Regions from separate parts of the Homo sapiens genome. Here all the other regions are linked to region 3. The links are contacts of gene promoters, found by promoter capture Hi-C in blood cells and fetal thymus (Javierre and others, 2016). All regions are on one chromosome and are shown on one strand. Each heading gives the region's core, a stretch centred on a gene start or on the middle of the fragment in contact. The rest is flanking DNA. Distances are from core to core; before and after follow the strand shown.

Region 1 (2,750 bases), core at 154-2,653, 620 kb before region 3:
TTGCTCAACTCACAGTGGATTGTGACATGAGCAAGAAATCAATCTTTGTCATGTTAACCACTGACATTTGGAATTTATTCACTATTGTAGCATATAGCCTATCTCCATTAATACACAAGGGCAGGCCATTTGAGCTGGGGAAAGGAGAGGGCTCTGAAGAGGTGACATTTAAATGGAAATTTAAAAGAGTAGAAGAAAACAGCCACTTGAAGAGCCAAGGGAATGGCATTTCAAGCAAGGGAACAGAAACTGCAAAAGCCCCCAGGCAGAAGAAACTGTCAACTGACCAGCCAGGAGCAAGGGGTAAGTGGCACAAGATAACTCTTAAGATTAAGTCAAACAGAAGAATGAAAGCTTTGAACTACCCAAACTCCACTAACAACTTACACCCTGCAGGAGAGGTATTTTTGCATCATCACTACACAACTCTCTGTGTGAGTCACAGACCCTGGGTGCCCTCAAGGGTGAGGCTGGCTGCCCTGAAGACACTACCATACAGCTAAGGAGTTGGCTTAAGGATATTCAAAAAGCCTTAAGGAATAAAGCTCCAGCTGGTGCTAAAGAAAGACAACCATAGACAGAGTCTTGGTATAACTGTGTTCACCACTGTCTTTTTTAAGTTCTTGTCTAGCTTCTCAGTATTTCCGTAAGACCTGACTGCAGAGAGAAAAAACAAGACAACTGCTCAGCGCTACCTTGAGGGAATATGCAGCATAAATAGCTACATTTGGATTTTTCATTTTGCTGATGAAATCGCATTTTTGATCACAGCTCCTGGACAACTGCAGCCATGCCTGATGCTCTTGTTCTACAACAAAATAGAAGCAGCAGCTAGGGGAGAAGTTTCCAGACTTGTGTTCTGTTGGGTTTTAGAGTCACATCTGTGGCTTTCAGCTGGAAACGGCTGGACAACTATTTGTTGAATGAATGAATGAATGAATGAATGAATGAATGTTACAATACATCACATCAAATTATTGCCCACCTCACTCCAAAAGTGTTTAAATGCGAATTCAACTTATTAGATACCTTTGAGTTAATGATGCTGAAGAATTTGTAGTTACTTTCATTATTTGTGTTTCATTAACCTAGGGTTCAATAATATTCCCAGGTATAGTACATGTTTGGGTAAGAAGCTATTGACTGTCTTATCTTTTGATGATTCCAAGAAAAGGTATGAAGCCATTTGCCTTTTCATAATTTATAGGTTAATTTGTGTGTAATTAGAAAAGCAGGTACATTTTAAGTAAGTCAAACCAAAAGACAACATCAAGAAGAGAATAGTAAATAGTCAAGTGAAAGTGCTAGCTTGTAATTCCAAGAGCTCATGTATTTGAGCAGTGCCTCTTCCCAGGTGACACAGGGCATTTTGAGTTCAGGTTTTCCTGGTGGTATGTACAGGAGTGGGAGCGGAGTTACATGCTAATGTGACCAGAGAGGATGCAGTGCTGAGGATCCAGGGCAGGATGGAGGCAGTGTCCCCGACTGGCAGCCTCCAAAAAGCCTTGACCTACAGATGTGTTTTGTGTGTCCCATGCAGACTTGGCTCTCATGGTGTTTTGTTTTTTAGTTTAGTGTCAATATTTGAAAGTAAGGAGATGTATCTTAGTCCATTTTGTGCTGCTATAGAAGAATTACCGGCTGGGCGAGGTGGCTCACGCCTGTAATCCCAACACTTTGGGAGGCCAAGGCGGGCAGATCACGAGGTCAAGAGTTTGAGACCAGCCTGACCAACATAGTGAAACCCTGTCTCTACTAAAAATACAAAAATTAGCTGGGCATAGTGGCGTGCACCTGTAATCCCAGCTACTTCGGAGGCTGGGGCAGGAGAATCACTTGAACTCAGGAGGTGGAGGTTGCAGTGAGCCAAGATCGCACCACTGTATTCCAGCCTGGGTGACAGGGCGAGACTCCATCTCAAAAAAAAAAAAAGAATTATCTAAGACTGAGTAATTTATAATGAGCAGAAATTTATTGACTTCTGGTTCTGGAGGCTAGAACGTCCAAGATCAAGGGGCTGGCATCTGGGGAGAACCTTCTTGCTGTGCTATCCCATGAAGGAAACACAAAGAAGGAGTGAGAGAGAGCAAGAGTTCAAACTTGCACCCTCAAGCCCTTTTATAATCATTATTAATCCATTCATGAGGGTGGAGCCTTATGACCTAAATACCTCCATTAGGCCCCACCTCCCAACACTGATTAAGTTTCCAATGCATGCCTTTTGGGGGAACACATTCAAACCATAGCAAGATGTCAGATAAAAATCAAGATAGTAAAATTAAGATAATTATTTGAAATGGCTTTCTTTGAAAATTTTGAAATATCTGGCAAACATGGGTCCAAATGCCCACAAGATGGCAATGAGCTAGAGCCAAGCTGGCTCTTCCTTTGGACATTATGGTCTCCCCTCAGTGTGCCGCGGTCCCCTCCCCTGCTTGTTGTCTTGTCCCCACAAGCTTCATTCATTTACTTACGATACTGTCAGGGTCTGTGACGGAGCACCAGTAAACAGCCTCTCACTTTATTTTCTCTGGGTTCTAAACAAGCTGAGAAATAAAACAACGACTAAAGCTGAAGGCAAAAACATCCCCTCTATTTACTGAGACAGAAGAAGTTGGAGGGCGAGGCTTATATCTGCAGGCAGATGGACCTACGAAGAACGAAGAACGCTAAGGTGACTCATCCAGCACTGGATGGGGCAGGCCTCGCATGTAATTCCTATAGCATGAAGGAGCAGAGGAGAGTGCAGG
Region 2 (2,700 bases), core at 117-2,616, 530 kb before region 3:
TGAGCCGAGATCATGCCACTGCACTCCAGCCTGGGTGGTAGAGTGAGACTCCGTCTCAAAAAAAAAAAAAAAAAAAAAAGGCTTGGTAGATCAAGAATGTAAATTTCAGATATATGGCATATAGGATTAGAATTTATAGAATGACTCATGGGCTTCTTTGGATACTGCCTTTTTTCCACCTTTTTTTCAGTTAATTAAGCTTTAGAGTTAAAATAATAACATTGGATAATGAAAAATGAAATGGAGGTACTTGTAACCCAGACTTTTTTTTTTTTTTTCTTTTCTCTGTATGAGACAGGGTCACAACTCTGCCTGTCGCCCAGGCTGGAGCACAGTAGTGCCATTAGAGCTCACTGTAACCTCAAATCCCTGGGCTCAAGTTATCCTGCCACTTCAGCCTCCCAAATAGCTGGAACTACAGGCATGTGCCTCCACACCCAACTAATCTTTTAAAAAATTTTTGTAGAGATGGGGGTCTCACTATGTTATGTTGCCCAGGCTGGTCTTGAACTGTTCTCAAGTGATCCTTCTGCCTCAGCCTCCCAGAGTGCTGGGATTACAGGTGTGAGTCACTGCACTCCACCCAGAAATACTCTTAAAAGTCTAAAAAAGGAGTTAAGTGCTATTAAGAAATACACAAAGGGAGAAAGGTATACTATAGCATATGAAATGTCACAGCTCAGTCACGATCACTAAAACATAGATTGAGGCGTGAAGGTAAGTTAAAGCAAGACTGAACACTGACATAGAAGGAGGTAGAGCAGTGTTTCGGAAACCAGATTTAGGATTGTCAGAAGCTAGGAAAGCAAAAGCAAGGCATGAGTGAGCATGAGACTGGAGCTTGGCTGGTACTGTGTGACCTCAGATGAGGCAGGGCAGCTCAAGACCCATCAGGTAAGACTTACCTGATGGGTGGAACGTGTGAACTTAGATAAAATCTCAGCGTTTACATCATAGTTGAGAGGTTTGAAATGTTTGTGTTATGGACCGTAAGACTAATACAGTGTGCAGTATGGTAGAGCAGGTCAGTAAATGCAGTAAGCCTTTAAATAAACAGATGCCCAGCAGTTGGCCCAGAAACTGCCAATGTCTCCTGTTTAATTGGGATATATTGAAATCAATATGTTGAACTCAATCTCTTTCTCTGAAATATGCTGCTTCTGTCAGTTACTTTCTTGGTTGCTGCCCTCTCCCTTTAATATTTTGACAAGAAAAATAATTTCTTTACAGTTTACAATTGCATAATTTTAACACTTTTAGCCTTTAGTAATAATGCATTTCATTTATTCTAAGTTCCATATTTTTACATTTTTAATTAACATCTGTGAAATTGAGATGGCTGATAGATTCAAGGAGAAGCAGTGTTCAATGTCAGTGGATCTTACAGATTTCTTCCCCTGAGGGGGGTGTTTATATTAAGACCTGAGTTTAATTTTTTTTTGTCTTACTTGCCCCCCATCATACTATCATGCTTTCGAATTAAGTTGCAATTTAAATTGATAATACAAAACTGGTGGGTCTTAAAATACAATTTTATACATAACCCCTAACCATGATATCAAAAACTATTTCTTCTAGTTTCAAACATTCTTAGGAGTTTTTTGTTTTTTTTTTTTTTGTTTTGAGACAGAGTCTTGCTCTGTTGCCAGGCTGGAGTGCAGTGGCGCCATCTCGGCTCACTGCAACCTCTGCCTCCTGAGCTCAAGCAATTCTCCTGCCTCAGCCTCGGTGGCAGCTCCTGGCTGGCTAGCAGTGCTAGAGTACAGCCCTGCCTTTCTCCTTTGGTTCTTGGGAAGTCCCAAGAGAAATGTAATTGATTGGCCAGCTGTAAGTCACATGCCCACCCTAAAACCCCTGAGTTGAGGGAGTGCCAGCTTGTTACTTGGGCTTATTTGGCTTTTTTCTCTATATCTTATCATTTCTGTTATCCTAGTTGCCTTGGATTTTTTTTTTTTTTTTTGAGATGTAGTCTTGCTCTGTTGACCAGGCTGGGGGGCAGTGGTGTGATCTTGGTTCACTGCAACCTCTGCCTCCTGGGTTCAAGCGATTCTTCTGCTTCAGCCTCCCGAGTAGCTGGGACTAGAGGTGCACGCCATCACGCCTGGCTGATTTTTTTGTATTTTTAGTAGAGATGGGGTTTCACTGGGTTGGTCAGGCTGGTCTCGAACTCCTGACCTCATGATCTGCCAGCCTCAGCCTCCCAAAGTATTGGGATTACAGGCATGAGCCACCATGCCCAGCCGCCTTGGATATTTCTTATATTTACACAGTAGCACATCTTGGTTTTCTTATATTTAAATACATAGTAGCACATCTTGATTTGGGGCGGGGGAGGTGTGTGTGTGAAGCCTGCTCCTCTTTGATTTTGGTACTTAATTTTCCTGGACTTCATTGAAAATTCCTAATTAAACTTTATCATGACATAGGTACTGATTCATAATATGGCTTCTTCTGTAAACATTAGTTATTTTTTAGATTCAAATGGTAGTATATTTGCTTTCTTTTTGAAAGGAAGTAGTCATGAATCCTTTTAGAAGCTTTAGGTAGAGGCTGGGTGTGGTGGCTCACGCCTGTAATCCCAGAACTTTGGGAGGCCGAGGGGGGCAGATCACAAGGTCAGGAGTTTGAGACCAGCCTGGCCAGCATGGTGAAACCCAGTCCCTACTAAAAATACAAAAATTAGCCGGGCATGGTGATGCG
Region 3 (2,753 bases), core at 254-2,753:
GAAAATAAACCTGGAATAACAATACAGAGTAGTTTAATGAAAAAAAAGAGCCATTTAATATTATTTTCATCAACCTCAAGTTTTTGGCCAGATTGTTTTTTGCCGAGTTCATGAACTACAATAATTTCTGGGCAAAAAGGATCTCTTGCAGATAAGACACTGTATTAAAAGAAACAAGGAAGCTGTTGGAATTCGTTGTTGGAAATATTCCTCACTCATTCCCTTGCAGTGCCTCGGCCTGCCCCCAAGACCAGTTAAACACTGTACTGCCACATCAAAGAAAGTACAGAAGAAGGGGGAAAATTTGCTAATTCTCACCTTGACAGTGAATAGATTTCTTATCACCCCAGTTCCTCCCAGTCTTGCAGACTCAACTGAATGTAGTTTATCGCCTAAAACAAAACAAGGAATAAAAGTGTTAACATACAGAACACTCACAGGAGAATTTAGCTGTTTTTAGTACCTGCCAGACAGCCCAGTTTATCCGGTTTAAAGTACAGTGCTGAGTGTACTCGGTGGGACAAAGGCCAATTTTAGGCCCGCAGGCACTTTCCAAATAAAGGTCATGGGAGCACAATTTATCTCTGCGTGTGCGAGGGCGTGCCCCCGCTTCGCCGCCCGTTAGCAGGTCTTGGGGTTTGCATGTCCTTGCTCTTGGCCTGCACCCGTCCTTATGGCCGTTGTGCAAGAGGGCTGCAATCAAGGCTGGATCGGTACCTCCTTCCAGGTCTCCACGCCCGCCCCTCCCCTCCCCTCCCCTCGCTGGTGCTGGGACCTTTTAAACTCCAGGCACCCGGAACTGGCGGGGGTGTTTCCCCCAGCCCCCTCTCGCCCCGTGTGGCCTAGCGACCCCTCTGAAGGCCGCTGGAGCTCCGCCCCTCCACGCCCCCTGGCGGACGCGAGGGATCGGCTTCAAGGCTATTCCTCGCCGCCTGAGTTGCCTGCAGACGCCCGTCTGCGGCTTACAGCCTTCTTTGCATCCAGCCCCCAGCTGCTGCACGTTTTCTTCCTCCTACACTCCAGGCTTAGTCTTCTACATGCATTCTTGCAACTTCCACCCCTCGATTTTCCAACCCAAGTGCAGACCTGATTTTCCCCTTGTCGTTGCATCCAACTTCCTCACCGCCCAGTTTCTCCCTCCCAGGCCCAAAAGCAGACCTTCTGCATATCCAAGCATCCAGCATCCCCTCCTTCCCTTTTCTTTTCCCATTCTCAATACCTGGATTTGTTCCCTTCTTTGCACGCAGGCCTTGACTCCCTCCACACCCAAGATCTGCGCTTTTTTCCTTTACCCCATTCCTGCCTTCTGCGGAATTAGAGCCACCCCTCCACAGCCAGGGACCGGGGCCGCCCCTTGGAGCCTGAGGTTACCTGCCGGGATGATATGCTGGCGAAGAGTTGGGGCGCCACAGCCGCTCACAAGCTCAGACTCACAACCACAGCCTGGCAATCCCAAACCGGACTCCCAGTGCCTCCGCTTCTGAAGTAGACTCTGCAGAAACCCGGGACCACAGGGTAGGTCCGAGCTTTTCCTCTTCCCGGCTTTGTCCCCTCCCAGGCCCCGCCTCCTCAGCCCACCTCCCCCAGCCCCGCCCCCGACACGCCTCCAATCGCCACACGCCAATTCCCGTGGGATGGGCGGAGTCAGCGAGAGGGGCGTGGCCACAGTCAAAGATGGAGAATCCATGGTGCCACTTTCCCGGTGATCCCGGTGGGGGAAGGGGTTGCCGCCCGGCAGAGATTCAGTCCCGAATCCCGACAGCGAAGAGACTTGTATGCCACCTGCAGGCCGGGGAGCGGGGCGCGCTGGGGCTGCACCACCCCGAACTTTGTAACAATCTAGAGCACCACAGAGTGTTTCCAGGTCGGCACAAAAGCGAACGGGACAGGGCGCCCTGGGCGGCGGCAGCTTGGCCGGCCCGCTGCCTAGCGCGCCCCCGAGGGGCGGTAATGGAACGTACCTTTGGCTGAAGAAAGAGTGCTCCCGGCCAGCGCGGGGTCGCCTAGGGGGTTCCGCGCTGCCTAATGCAAAGGATGGAAAAGTTACAGAAGCAGGTCCTGACACCACCTATGTCTAGGTCTTTAGAAACTCCATTGATTGTTTGCATTAGAAGATAATGAATGGGATTCTTATTATTTTCTTTTTTAAGACAGGGCCTTGCTCTGTTGCCCTGGCTGGAGTGCAGTGGAGCGATCACCGCTCACTGCAGCCTTGACTTCCTGGGCTCAAGAGATCCTCCCACCTCAGCCTTCCGAGTAGCTGGGATTACAGGTGCACACAATCACACTCAACTAATTTTTCTTTCTTTCTTTTCTTTTCTTTTTCCTTTGGTAGAGATGGGTTTCAGCAGCCCAGGCTGGTCTCGAACTCCTGGACTCAAGTGATTGGCCCTCCTCGGCCTCCCAAAGTCCTGGGATTACAAGCGTGAGCCACCATGCTCAGTTGGCGGGGGATTATCTGTGATCCAATGAAGTTGGACTAGAGATGTGAAGCCTTAGAAAACGGTGGATTGAAAAAAGAATTTTAGTCTCCTCCAGAGATTATATTTTGTGTGTTCATTGCTCTCAAAAACATGAAAATAAAGAGTATTTTATATTGTGATTTGTAGGACAATAGCATGCTTGTATATTGCTGCCCAGAATTTAATGCTCCAATATTTATTTATTTATTTATTTATTTATGAGACAGAGTCTTGCCCTGACAGGCTGGTGCAGTCTCGGCTCACTGCAACTTCCGCCTCCTGGGTTCAAGT
Region 4 (2,700 bases), core at 91-2,590, 710 kb before region 3:
TGTAACTATGATCCAAGAATTTGTTATTTATTATGAGAGAATTTATTATAATGACTGCGATGGTAGTTTATAACTTATAAACTCTACCATATTTGGGAAATTCACAGTTACAAACATTTACCTATGAAGGGGGAGTGAGTAGTCATTCCTTCATTTTTTACAAATAAGCTGAGTCGTGGAGAATTTAAGTGATGTGTGTAGAAACTCACAGTAAGTAAGGCGTAGTCTTCATCACTCTTGTAGTACTGCATTATCTCTTTGTAAAGTTTTCAGGGTTTCTGTTTTATTAATGGTTATTAATTTTATTTATTTATTTATTTATTTATTTTTGAGATGGAGTCTGTCACCAGGCTGAAGTGCAGTGGTGCTATCTTGGCTCACTGCAGCCTCTGCCTCCTGGGTTCAAGTGATTCTCCTGCCTCAGCCTACCGAGTAACTGGGACTACAGGTGCATGCCACCACACCCAGCTAATTTTTTTGTATTTTTAGTAGAGACAGGGTTTCACCATGTTGGTCAGGATGGTATCGATTTCTTGACCTTGTGATCTGCCCACCTCAGCCTCCCAGAGTGCTGGGGATTACAGGCGTGAGCCACGGCGCCCAGCCAAAATTTGTTTTTTTGTTTGTTTGTTTGTTTTTTGAGACGAGGTCTCGCTGTGTTGTGCAGGCTGGAGTGCAGTGGCACCATCTCAGCTCACTGCAAGCTCTGCCTCCTGGGTTCATGCCATTCTCCTGCTTCAGCCTCCTGAGTAGCTGGGACTACAGGGGCCCGCCACCACGCCTGGCTAATTTTTTGTATTTTTAGTAGAGACAGAGTTTCACTGTGGTCTCGATCTTCTGACCTCATGATCTGCCCGCCTTGGCCTCCCAAAGTGCTGGGATTACAGGCGTGAGCCACTGCCCGGCCAAAATTTTTCTTTTTAAGCAATATTAGTTTAGGCTTGTAAGTAGCTCACTTAGGGTAAATATTCTAGCCAAGATCATGAAAAAATACATTGATTTCATTATGTTCTTAATCAGATCTGCATCAGATTACCATAAATAGGCAGCTATTCTTTCTTTTTTTCCACAGTTCATTGTATTCCTACCATTTCCAAATAGAAGTTTATGGTTTTAAATTACTGATGTTAAGTACTTGTTTGGAAGGAATTTATAGTTAAACTAGTTATAATAATTTATACCTGTCAAGCTCTTTCATATATAGTACATATTTTATCTCTCATTAGTTTCTGTAAGCTCTTGAGAGAAAGGTTCTTTTTTATTTCCACCTTTTAAGTTCAGGGGTACATGTGCAGGATGTGCAGGTTTGTTACATAGGTAATCGTGTGCCATGGTGGTTTGCTGCACACATCATCCCATCACCCAGGTATTAAGCCCAGCATTCACCAGCTGTTCTTCCTGATGCTCTTCCTCCTCCCACCCCCAACCCTCTGACAGGCCCCAGTGTGTGTTGTCCCCCCAACCACCGATGTGTCCATGTGTTCTCATCATGTACCTCCCACTTACAAATGAGAACATGCGGTATTTGGTTTTCTGTTCCTGTATTAGTTTGCTGAGGATAAAGGCCTCCAGCTCCATCTATGTTCATGCAAAGGACATGATCTTGTTCTTTATGGCTGCATAGTATTTCATGGTGTGTATGTACCACATTTTCTTTAGTCTGTCATTGATGGGCATTTAGGTTGATTGCATGTCTTCGCTATTGTGAATAGTGCTGCAGTTAACATATGCGTGCATGTATTGTTATAATAGAATGATTTATATTCCTTTGGGTATATATCCAGTAAGGGGATTGCTGGGTCAAATGGTATTTCTGCCTCTAGGTTTTTGAGGTATTGCCACACTGTCTTCCACAATGGTTGAACTAACACCACCAACAATGTAGAAGCATTCCAGAGAAAGGTTCTTTTATTTTTGTTTTGTTTTGTTCGAGACAGTCTCACTCTGTTGCCCAGACTGGAGTGCAGTGGCATGATCTCGGCTCACTGCAACCTCTGTCTCCTGGGTTCAAGTGATTCTCCTGCCTCAGCCTCCTGAGTAGCTGGGACTCCAGTCATGTGCCACCATGCCCGGCTAATTTTTGTATTTTTAGTAGAGATGAGGTTTCACTATGTTGGCCAGCTGGTCACGAACTTCTCACCTCAAGTGATCCACCCGCCTTGGCCTCCCAAAGTGCTGGGATTACAGACGTGAGCCACTCCGCCTGGCCTAATTCCAGAGAAAGGTTCTTATATGTTTTATGCTATAGTCCCATAGTATGGGACTACTACTATGTAGTAATTTTCAGTTCTGCTGAAAATGCTGTAGTCGTTACTACGTAGTAGGCGCAGAATATTTGTTTAATGAGTGATTCTCTATTAAAGGGTCATAAATTTGAAAGGTAAAGGTTAAGAACAATTTCTCTTTAGAGTTGTACAGATTAAAGGAAGTGAACTTTTTTTTTTTTTTTTTGTGAGATGGAGTTTCGCTCTTTCTGCCCAGGCTAGAGTGCAATGGCGCAATCTCGGCTCACTGCAACCTCTGCCTCCTAGGTTCAAGCGATTCTCCTGCCTCAGCCTCCCGAGTAGCTGGGATTACAGGCGTGCGCCACCACGCCTGGCTAATTTTGTATTTTTTTAGTAGAGACAAGGTTTCTCCATGTTGGCCAGGCTGGTCTTGAACTCCCGACCTCAGGTGATCTGCCCGCCTTGGCCTCCCAAA
Region 5 (2,700 bases), core at 119-2,618, 550 kb before region 3:
ATCACGAGGTCAGGAGATGCAGACCATCCTGGCTAACATGGTGAAACCCTGTCTCAAATACAAAAAATTAGCCAGACGTGGTGGCACGTGCCTGTAGTCCCAGCTACGTAGTCGGGAGGCTGAGGCAGGAGAATCGCTTGAACCTGGAAGGCAAAGGTTGCAGTGAGCCAGGATTGTGCCACTGCACTCCAGCCTGGGTGACAGAGCAAGACTCCATTTCAAAAAAAAAAAAAAAAGTAGCCAGGCATGGTTGCAGGTGCCTGTAATCCCTGCTACTTGAGAGGCTGAGATGGAAGAATCGCTTGAACCTGGGAGATGGTGGTTGCAGTGAGCCAAGATCGTGCCACTGCACTCTAGCCTGGGCTGGTGAGTGAGACTCCGTCTCAAAAAAACAAAAAAAAGAAAAATATGATGTTCTTAATGTGTAAATTTTAGGAAATTTCCCCTATTACTCTTTTTAGTTTGATTTAATGTGTGTGTGTGTGTTGTTTTCAAAAAAATGTAAGTTGAATATATATTGAAAATATAAGTTGATGCGACAAAATAGACTTACAGCAAAATAGACTTATGCAGGTGAAAGCACCTGCAGAAAGCTGCGTTCTTTTTAACTCCTAAAAAACTCAGAGGCAAGGAGAAAAATGGGCTTCTCTGGATGCCAGATAGTGCATAAGACTTAGATTTGGTTACAGTAATTTTAGCATAATCCATTGTAAGCTGATGATCTGGATGAACTTCACAATAGTGAAGAAACTGGTTTTGAGATTTGGAGATTTTTTTCCCCTTCACTTGAAGGAATGTTGCTCACCACACCTCTTCTACTTGCCCCATGTTTTTAGATTAATGTTTCCTGGAGAAGTGAAACACACTGAGATTAGATAGCTGCATTCTGTAAGAAGTCTGACTATTGTGAGATTACCATGCTATAGGGAATGTGCAACCAGTCCCACATGTGCCAGCCTTCACGGGCTAGTCACTTGATTTGCAAGTCATCATAAACTTTCAGTCTTGGGGATGTGATTTGGAGAAGAGTGGAAGAACCCCACTGACAGCTAGAGCTAACACTCCAGACATATGGCCCCAGGTGAGCAGTCTCAGCCAGGTCCAATCGTTACGTCCACTCCAGATGAGGCCCCAGTCATCCTGGAGCAGGCATGAACAGTCCCTATAGTGGCCTGCCTAATTTCCTGACCCGAACTCATGAGCTTTATACAATGGTTGTTGTTTTTTAAAATGCTACAGGAGAACAGAAACTAGAAGCAGAGGCATAAAACAGAATAGGAAATACTGAACAAAATAAGGAATCATTGCACACAATTCTCAAATTGTGATTGTTAGTACTGTCAATTCAACTTTTTCATCTATTTATCCATTCATTCAGGAAAAATTTGTTGAGAGTGCTACAAGCTAGTTAGTGTGGGAGATATTGAAAAATGACTAAATTAGCTCTGATCTCAGCAAGTTCCTAGTTTAATGGGGGTGTCAGACAAGTAAACAATTAGCACACACTGTAATACAATGTTGCTCTATAGTAAGGGTTTGGAGAAGGAACTGATTGCTTTGAAGATGCAGAATCTCACAGCCTTGAGGGAATCAAAGAAATTCATAGGCACTCTGAGGCTCAAAGACTGAATAGAGGTTTATCAGATGGCCAGAGCAGGGCAGCTACTGAGTTCCCAACTCTTTAGATCTTGAAGCTAACACTATGGCTGCAAAGAACAGGACAGGTCCAGTTTGGACACTCTAGCTTCAATTGCTCCTGTGAGCTCAGAGTTTTTCTTTTTCTTTCCTGAGCAAAGCATTGATTACATAACCAGAATTTTTTTTTTTTTTTTTTTTTTTGAGACAGAGTCTCGCTCTGTCACCCAGGCTGGAGTGCAGTGGCGCGATCTTGGCTCACTGCAAGCTCCGCCTCCCAGGTTCACGCCATTCTCCTGCCTCAGCCTCCCGAGTAGCTGGGACTACAGGCGCCCACCACTGCGCCCAGCTAATTTTTTGTACTTTTTAGTAGAGACGGGGTTTCACCGTGTTAGCCAGGATGGTCTCGATCTCCTGACCTTGTGATCCGCCCGCCTCGGCCTCCCAAAGTGCTGGGCAGAATTTTTTTTTAATAAGAGCATTCATGGCCGGGTGCGGTGGCTCATGCCTGTAATTCCAGCACTTTGGGAGGCAGAGGTGCGTGGATCAATTGAGGTCAGGAGTTCGAGACGAGCCTGACCAATATGGTGAAACCCCATCTCTACTAAAAAGTACAAAAAAGTTAGCTGGGCGTGGTGGCACACACCTGTAGTCCCAGCTACTCGGGAGGCTGAGGCAAGAGAATTGCTTGAACCCAGGAGGCGGAGGTTGCAATGAGCCAAGATTGTGCCATTGTACTCCAGCCTGGGCGACAGAGTGAGACTCCATCCAAAAAAAAAAATGTATTCTATTTCATCTGTGTGTTGAAAAGAAACAGCTCATGGAGTGTGTGGCATTATTCAATGTAGACTCATCAAACAAGCACCCTATAGAAGCAAGGTCTGCTCAGCACAGGAGACAAGGACCTATTCCCAATAAAATTCAATCTAAGTAGGTATTTTGTTTGTTCATTTGTTTTAATGTGCTTTCTATACAAACATATCGCTTAAGACTAGTTTCCTGGGCCCTATATCCATCCAGATTGCTGTCCTAATCCCTTCTGATAGAAAATTTCTAGAGGTACTT
Region 6 (2,700 bases), core at 49-2,548, 750 kb before region 3:
GTCTCCTGTATAACCAGTTCCCTGCATATTCCCTCTGTTTCAAATGCTCAGCAGGGTTTCTCTTTTCTGGATTATACTTTTCTGGTATACTGACATATTCCCTATTTGTCATAACTGGCTCAGTAACTGGGATGAGTCTAGATATATAGATGGAGCCCAGGCACAGAGGCTGAAAGCTAGAGGACTCATAAGCAGAGGTTTCTCCAAGAGAATACCAGGAATTGTATTACATTTGTTCTCCACTTATTGACAACTTATTGGTCCATCTTGTTATCAAATTTGCACTTGTTTGATTTATTCACTGTCTATGGCTCACCTATTTTTCAGGTAGACCTCTAACTGACATCAAGACAAAACATGCCTTTATCACCAGCTTCTTCAGCTGTTGTCATAACTGTAAGCTACTATTGGATTCGTCACACTGCAAATACCTCATGTTCTCACTTATAAGTGGAAGCTAAATGATGAGAACACACGGACACACAGAGGGGAATAACACACACTGGGGCCTATTGGAGGGTGGAGGGTGGGAGGAGGGAGAGGATCAGGAAAAATACCTAATAGGATTAATACCTGGGTGATGAAATGAGACAAGTTTACTTGTGTAACAAACCTGCAGCTTACCTACGTAACCTATTACCCCTGAACTTAAAAGTTTAAAAAAAAATGTGCTTGCTAATATGAAATGGTTGGGGAGAAAAGAGGGACTAAGGAAGACAGGATGGGACACTAACACCGAGGAGCCTTCAACAGCCTGTGGATATTCCTGGGGATCCTATCAGCCAGCTGGGGGTGGAGGAGGAGCCACAGGCAGAGCCTTTCAAGAGGCAAATGCCCGTCCAGCTCTGGCCCCAGTTTTCCTTACGGCAGCCTCTGCTTAACTATAAAATCTATACTGAGTAGATTACCATGACTACCGCAGAAAGACCTCCACCTCTAGTTTGGCTGCAAAACTAAGTCTTTTCTTCCAAGAGCCTTTGGCTTTAGGAGGGAGCACCAGGAGGCAGACTGCAGCCACTGGCTCACTGCCCTACATGCCAGGGCCTTCTGCAGAACCGCAATAGTTACAAGTCAAGCTTCCTTTCCTCAGCCCATACCACCAAAGCAATGGGCTGTTGGCGTGCCCTGACAGCAGGAGGAGAAGCCCCACTGTCAGGGGGTAAAAAGAAACGACACAGTTCCCACTTCTTCACTCTACGTGATAAATCACTTCAGCTGGGAGAACTGTCATGAAACGACCTGGCAGCTAATGAGAGAAATGGAACCCAAAAAAAGAAAGAAAGGAAGAAAGAATCCTGTTAGTCACAGAGCTTTTCATCTGAACCGCAGAACAGGCTCGTGCTTTTTGCTTTCTGTGGGAATAATAAAATCACAGTCCTGTAACTATATTAGCTCCTCAAACAAAAGTAACTCCCTAGAATAAAATTATGAGGGGTTTCTGAGTTGGATTTAGTTTTCACTGGGTAAAGGCATAAATTAAAAGGAGGAACCGGGTACCCTTAAGAAAGTCAATGAAGTAACTAAGCTTGCTATTCAAACCAGGAAAACACAGGCTGTGAGGCAGCTTCACTCTGCAGTCTATTCAACACCTGGCGAACAAAACAACACTGACTCTGCCCAAGCCGGGATTTTCCCACAGTGGACCAGCAATTTCAGAGGCCCCTAGAATGCCAGGACTGTGTCTTAGACCTTGGAAAATAGGATGAAAAGGACAGGCTCAAAGGGATATTTAGTTCCAAAGGAAAATCACAAAAGCTAAAAGTTATTATAAGAGAAAGGCCCTAAAGCACATTACTGGAGATAAAATTTTAAGGGTAAATAAATACCCTTTGTGGAAAAGTGTTTAGGAAAAAACACAAAGAGAGCATGAATACCATATTATAGGTACAATATGTTCTATCCAAAATAAAAAGTAGGTTCAGAATCACATCAGCCTAATCATGCCTCCTAAGCAGCAGGCTATGTGAGGTAGAGAAATGTGGGCTCAGTACCTCTATCCCACATTCTTCATCCTCCCCTGCTCCACCACACCCACCTCCTGCCTTTCAGAACCGCCTTCCTCCAAAGACACCCAGGAACCTCAGAAAGAATGCTTCTCTAAATTATTCATACCACAGTGCTACTTCCTGTCCTTTCCTTCCAAGAAATATTTGCTATGTTAAAACCCAGTGAAAGTGAGCAATGCTTGAAACAAATAGTGAATCACTCCTGGTAATATTTCAGGCACTGGTAAAAATTTCATTGGATGGGGGAGGGAAAGAGGAGTCTCTTTCTCATACTCTAAATTATACCACATATAAAAACAGACTATAAACATGACCTCTTTTATGTGGAAATTCACATTGCATAGGTAGAACATTATTTTTTTAAATGCTGACTTTCAAAAGTTGACATCAACTTTCAATCAAAATACTCATGTATTTAAAGAAGACCAGCAGAAAAATATTTATGAACTTATTTTCAACTTGTCCCCATTTTTGAACTTTTTTATCAGTGAAGAAATGGAAACATTTTTTCAATAACCAACAAACCTTTCTAAAACCCTGTTTGATCTTGCCACACTTCTATTAGTAAACCAAAATATTTTGGAAGTGTTTTATCCAAATTACACTTTGGTCCTGATAGGGATAAAATCCAATAAATGATAGGTCTATGTCCACATGACAATTATATGAGGTTCCTACTGTAATACTGGCATTC
Region 7 (2,897 bases), core at 358-2,857, 650 kb before region 3:
TGTTTGGCTAATGTTCATAGTGCTGTTATGAATGTTCGTGTACAAGTATTTGAGTCCGTGTTTTCAATTATTTGGGGTATATGCCTGGGAGTGGAGTTGCTGGGTCATGTTGAAATCGCACATTTAACTTTTTGAGGAACTGTCAAACTTTCCCTCAGCAGCTGTACCGTTTTACCTTCCACCATTGATGTATGAGGGTTCCAATTTCTCCACACCTTCACCAACACTTATTTTGCCATTTTAAAAATTATAGCCATCCTCATGGGTGTGGTCTCTCATTGTGGTTTTGATTTGCATTTCCCTGATTACTAATGATGTGGAGCATCTTTTGTTGTCTTTGGCCATCTGCGTATCTTCTTTGAAGAAATGTCTGTTGAGGTCCTTTGTTCATTGAAATTTTGTTGTTGGGTTCTGAGTTCCTTATATATTCTGGGTACTAGGCCCTTATAATATTTTCGCCTATAAGTTTTTGCTTTATAATGTCCTCATTGTTTTCAAACTTACTTTATGTAATATGTACACTTCTAAAAAAAAGAAACATGGAAAAGGGCAAACTGTAAGAAGTTTTTTGTGTTATGTTTTTTGTGACAGTCTGTGCATATATACACAAATATAATGTATGTTCTCTCCTCCTCCCTCTCCCTTTTTTTACACAAAAGGTAGGTACAAACAGTGGTTTATAAACTGCTGCCATTGTACAGATACAGTTTAACCAGTCCTCTTCTGGGGACATTTGGCTGTTTGAAATTTTTTACTGTTACAGATATACAGAGGTTGGTAACTAGGTCTACACAAGTTGTATCTCCAGGATACTGAGAAGTAAAAGTTATTTCTGAATTATGGTTTTCTTCATATTTGGATATTGTTTCCTAATGATTATTAGGTATCTGCTAAGCAATTTTTATTAACTTATGTTGATTACTATTTTTATGTCAAACTTTACAGTCTAGGCATTTTTTTCTGGAATTAAAATTAGAAGTGGCACAGACTTTCATAAGGCTTTCCTTTTCTCATCTCTGTTAATACTGTTTTCTTTCTAATATCCTCAGAAATAACTGTTCTTAGCAAAGAAACAAGTTTTCAATATGCCATCTTTTCTAGTGTTACTAAATTTTTAACCCCTCTGGTTGTAGAAGGAAAGGTGTAACATGATTTTAGAGCAGAAAGCTAACAATTAAATCTTCAAGTTGGGCCGGGGTGCGGGTGGCTCACGCCTGTAATCCCATCACTTTGGGAGGCCGAGGCAGAGGAGGGCAGATCACCTGAGGTCAGGAGTTCGAGACCAGCCTGACCAACATGGTGAAACCTCATCTCTACTAAAAAATACAAAAATTAGCCAGGCATGGTGGCAGGCGCCTGTAATCCCAGCTACTCGGGAGGCTGAGGCAGGAGAATCACTTGAACCCAGGAGGCGGAGGTTGCAGTGAGCCGAGATTGCGCCATTGCACTCCAGCCTGGGCGACAGAGCAAGGCTCCCGTCTCAAAAAAAACTTCAAGTTTTAAGGTAAAACAGAGCTAAGGACTGTCCGGTGTCATGCTGTTTATGTCAGTGCTAAGATAGTACAAGTTTCCAGCTTCCCAGAGGAGGGTTCTCTATACTCACTGTACTTACCAATTCATGTTAAAGACCTTGAGAAAGCTACTTCTCTCTAGGTAGAGGTTCTGGGGAGCAGTGAGGTTGTGACTTCGTCTAACACTAACACAAATTACAAGTCTGTTTTACCAACTATTAAGTGAAGTCCTATATCTAGGGCCACTTAACAGTACTGGGGTACATTATATAGTGATTTTTTAAAGTACTTTAAAATTTTATTTTTGTTCATTTTTAAAGAATTGGCAGTAAATGCTTCCCATAAATAGCAATTAAATGGTATTATTATTGGAGGTGAATCTTTTGCATTATGGTAATTTTGTTATTCAGCATATGCCTTGATACTTTAATATCCCTGAGAATTTATTTCTCCCATACCTTCGGCAAGGAGAAATAAAGCACATAAATTAGGCATATGGTAACTCATCTGTAAAGGAATGTGTATTTTTCATGAGTCAGTGTGAACTCCCTTTTTGAACAGGGTACCATGTTACCACTTGAAATACAGAATATAAGGTCGGGCCTGGTGGCTCACACCTGTAATCCCTGCACTTTGGGAGGGCGAGGCAGGTCGATCACGAGGTCAAGAGTTCAAGACCAGCCTGGCCAATATAATTAAAACCCCATCTCTACTAAAAATACAAAAAATTAGCTGGGCATGGTGGCAGATGCCTGTAATCCCAGCTACTCAGGAGGCTGAGACAGAAGAATCGCCTGAACCCAGGCAGAGGCTGCAGTGTGCCAAGATCACACCACTGCACTCCACTCCACCCTGGGTAACAAGCAAAATTCCATCTCAAAAAAAAGAAAGAAAGAAAGAAAGAAAGAAAACGATATATGGATATATGCTATCATCCTTGCCTTCTAGGAGCATAAATTGTATTTGCTAAGATAAAACATTCCAAATAATGTTATTCTGCCCTGAGTTTGCAATCTAGTGTTCAGTTAACAGATAAAAGCATTTTGATCAACTACTATTTGAAGATGGTATCCAGGCCATCTACCATGAACTAAAGCAAGCTACCCTTTAAGTGATAATCTACTTCAAAAACAGCATTCTTTACAGTGGGGTTCCAAGAACCTGGTATCATACATACATTTTAACATAGCATCTTGGCAGCAGTATTTGGTATTAATTGGGGGAAAAATTAGTGATACCACTGGATTATTTAACTGCATAACTTTAAAGAAATTGGGCAATGTGAGTGAGAATCAAGACTTAGTAAAATAGGTTTGGATTAGGTTTCTATCTTTGAAAACAAAACAAGCACACTTAAAATGTACATTTATGTGATAAAATATGTAA

Evidence for each region. The method cuts DNA at HindIII sites, captures the fragments that hold promoters and counts their contacts. A CHiCAGO score of 5 or more calls a contact.
Region 1: a contact is called between a fragment that was not itself captured here and the fragment with the promoter of IDH1 in region 3, in 3 of 17 cell types (monocytes, fetal thymus and M2 macrophages). The highest score is 7.5, in monocytes.
Region 2: a fragment that was not itself captured here is called in contact with the fragment with the promoter of IDH1 in region 3 in 4 of 17 cell types (total CD8 T cells, naive CD8 T cells, fetal thymus and 1 more); the score reaches 7.9 in total CD8 T cells.
Region 4: a fragment that was not itself captured here is called in contact with the fragment with the promoter of IDH1 in region 3 in 1 of 17 cell types (total CD8 T cells); the score reaches 6.0 in total CD8 T cells.
Region 5: a fragment that was not itself captured here is called in contact with the fragment with the promoter of IDH1 in region 3 in 1 of 17 cell types (naive CD8 T cells); the score reaches 6.4 in naive CD8 T cells.
Region 6: a fragment that was not itself captured here is called in contact with the fragment with the promoter of IDH1 in region 3 in 3 of 17 cell types (total CD4 T cells, total B cells and monocytes); the score reaches 5.7 in total CD4 T cells.
Region 7: a fragment that was not itself captured here is called in contact with the fragment with the promoter of IDH1 in region 3 in 2 of 17 cell types (neutrophils and naive CD8 T cells); the score reaches 5.4 in neutrophils.

Annotation. Positions count from the first base shown.
Region 1 is chr2:207,632,937-207,635,686 of GRCh38, forward strand. No RefSeq gene overlaps it. Among named protein-coding and RNA genes, the nearest start is that of METTL21A, 8.9 kb to the left of the region's middle. The HindIII fragment of the contact is 2,102 bases long and covers 353-2,454 here.
Region 2 is chr2:207,720,131-207,722,830 of GRCh38, forward strand. The region is part of intron 1 of CCNYL1 (cyclin Y like 1); the gene reads left to right. Among named protein-coding and RNA genes, the nearest start is that of CCNYL1, 9.8 kb to the left of the region's middle. The HindIII fragment of the contact is 2,338 bases long and covers 198-2,535 here.
Region 3 is chr2:208,253,568-208,256,320 of GRCh38, forward strand. It overlaps IDH1 (isocitrate dehydrogenase (NADP(+)) 1), which reads right to left and starts at 1,504. Exons shown (of 10, transcript NM_005896.4): 1 at 1,372-1,504; 2 at 319-392. IDH1-AS1 (IDH1 antisense RNA 1) reads left to right here and starts at 1,666. Exons shown (of 2, transcript NR_046452.1): 1 at 1,666-1,864; 2 at 2,336-2,627. RefSeq lists a silencer at 649-758 and an enhancer at 1,212-1,738. The HindIII fragment of the contact is 4,060 bases long and covers 1-2,753 here.
Region 4 is chr2:207,543,298-207,545,997 of GRCh38, forward strand. The region is part of intron 1 of CREB1 (cAMP responsive element binding protein 1); the gene reads left to right. Among named protein-coding and RNA genes, the nearest start is that of CREB1, 15 kb to the left of the region's middle. The HindIII fragment of the contact is 2,882 bases long and covers 1-2,700 here.
Region 5 is chr2:207,703,365-207,706,064 of GRCh38, forward strand. No RefSeq gene overlaps it. Among named protein-coding and RNA genes, the nearest start is that of CCNYL1, 6.9 kb to the right of the region's middle. The HindIII fragment of the contact is 7,671 bases long and covers 1-2,700 here.
Region 6 is chr2:207,503,818-207,506,517 of GRCh38, forward strand. No RefSeq gene overlaps it. Among named protein-coding and RNA genes, the nearest start is that of CREB1, 25 kb to the right of the region's middle. The HindIII fragment of the contact is 449 bases long and covers 1,075-1,523 here.
Region 7 is chr2:207,605,001-207,607,897 of GRCh38, forward strand. It overlaps CREB1 (cAMP responsive element binding protein 1), which reads left to right. Exons shown (of 8, transcript NM_004379.5): 8 at 1-988. It also overlaps a transcript of METTL21A not described here. Among named protein-coding and RNA genes, the nearest start is that of METTL21A, 19 kb to the right of the region's middle. The HindIII fragment of the contact is 6,145 bases long and covers 1-2,897 here.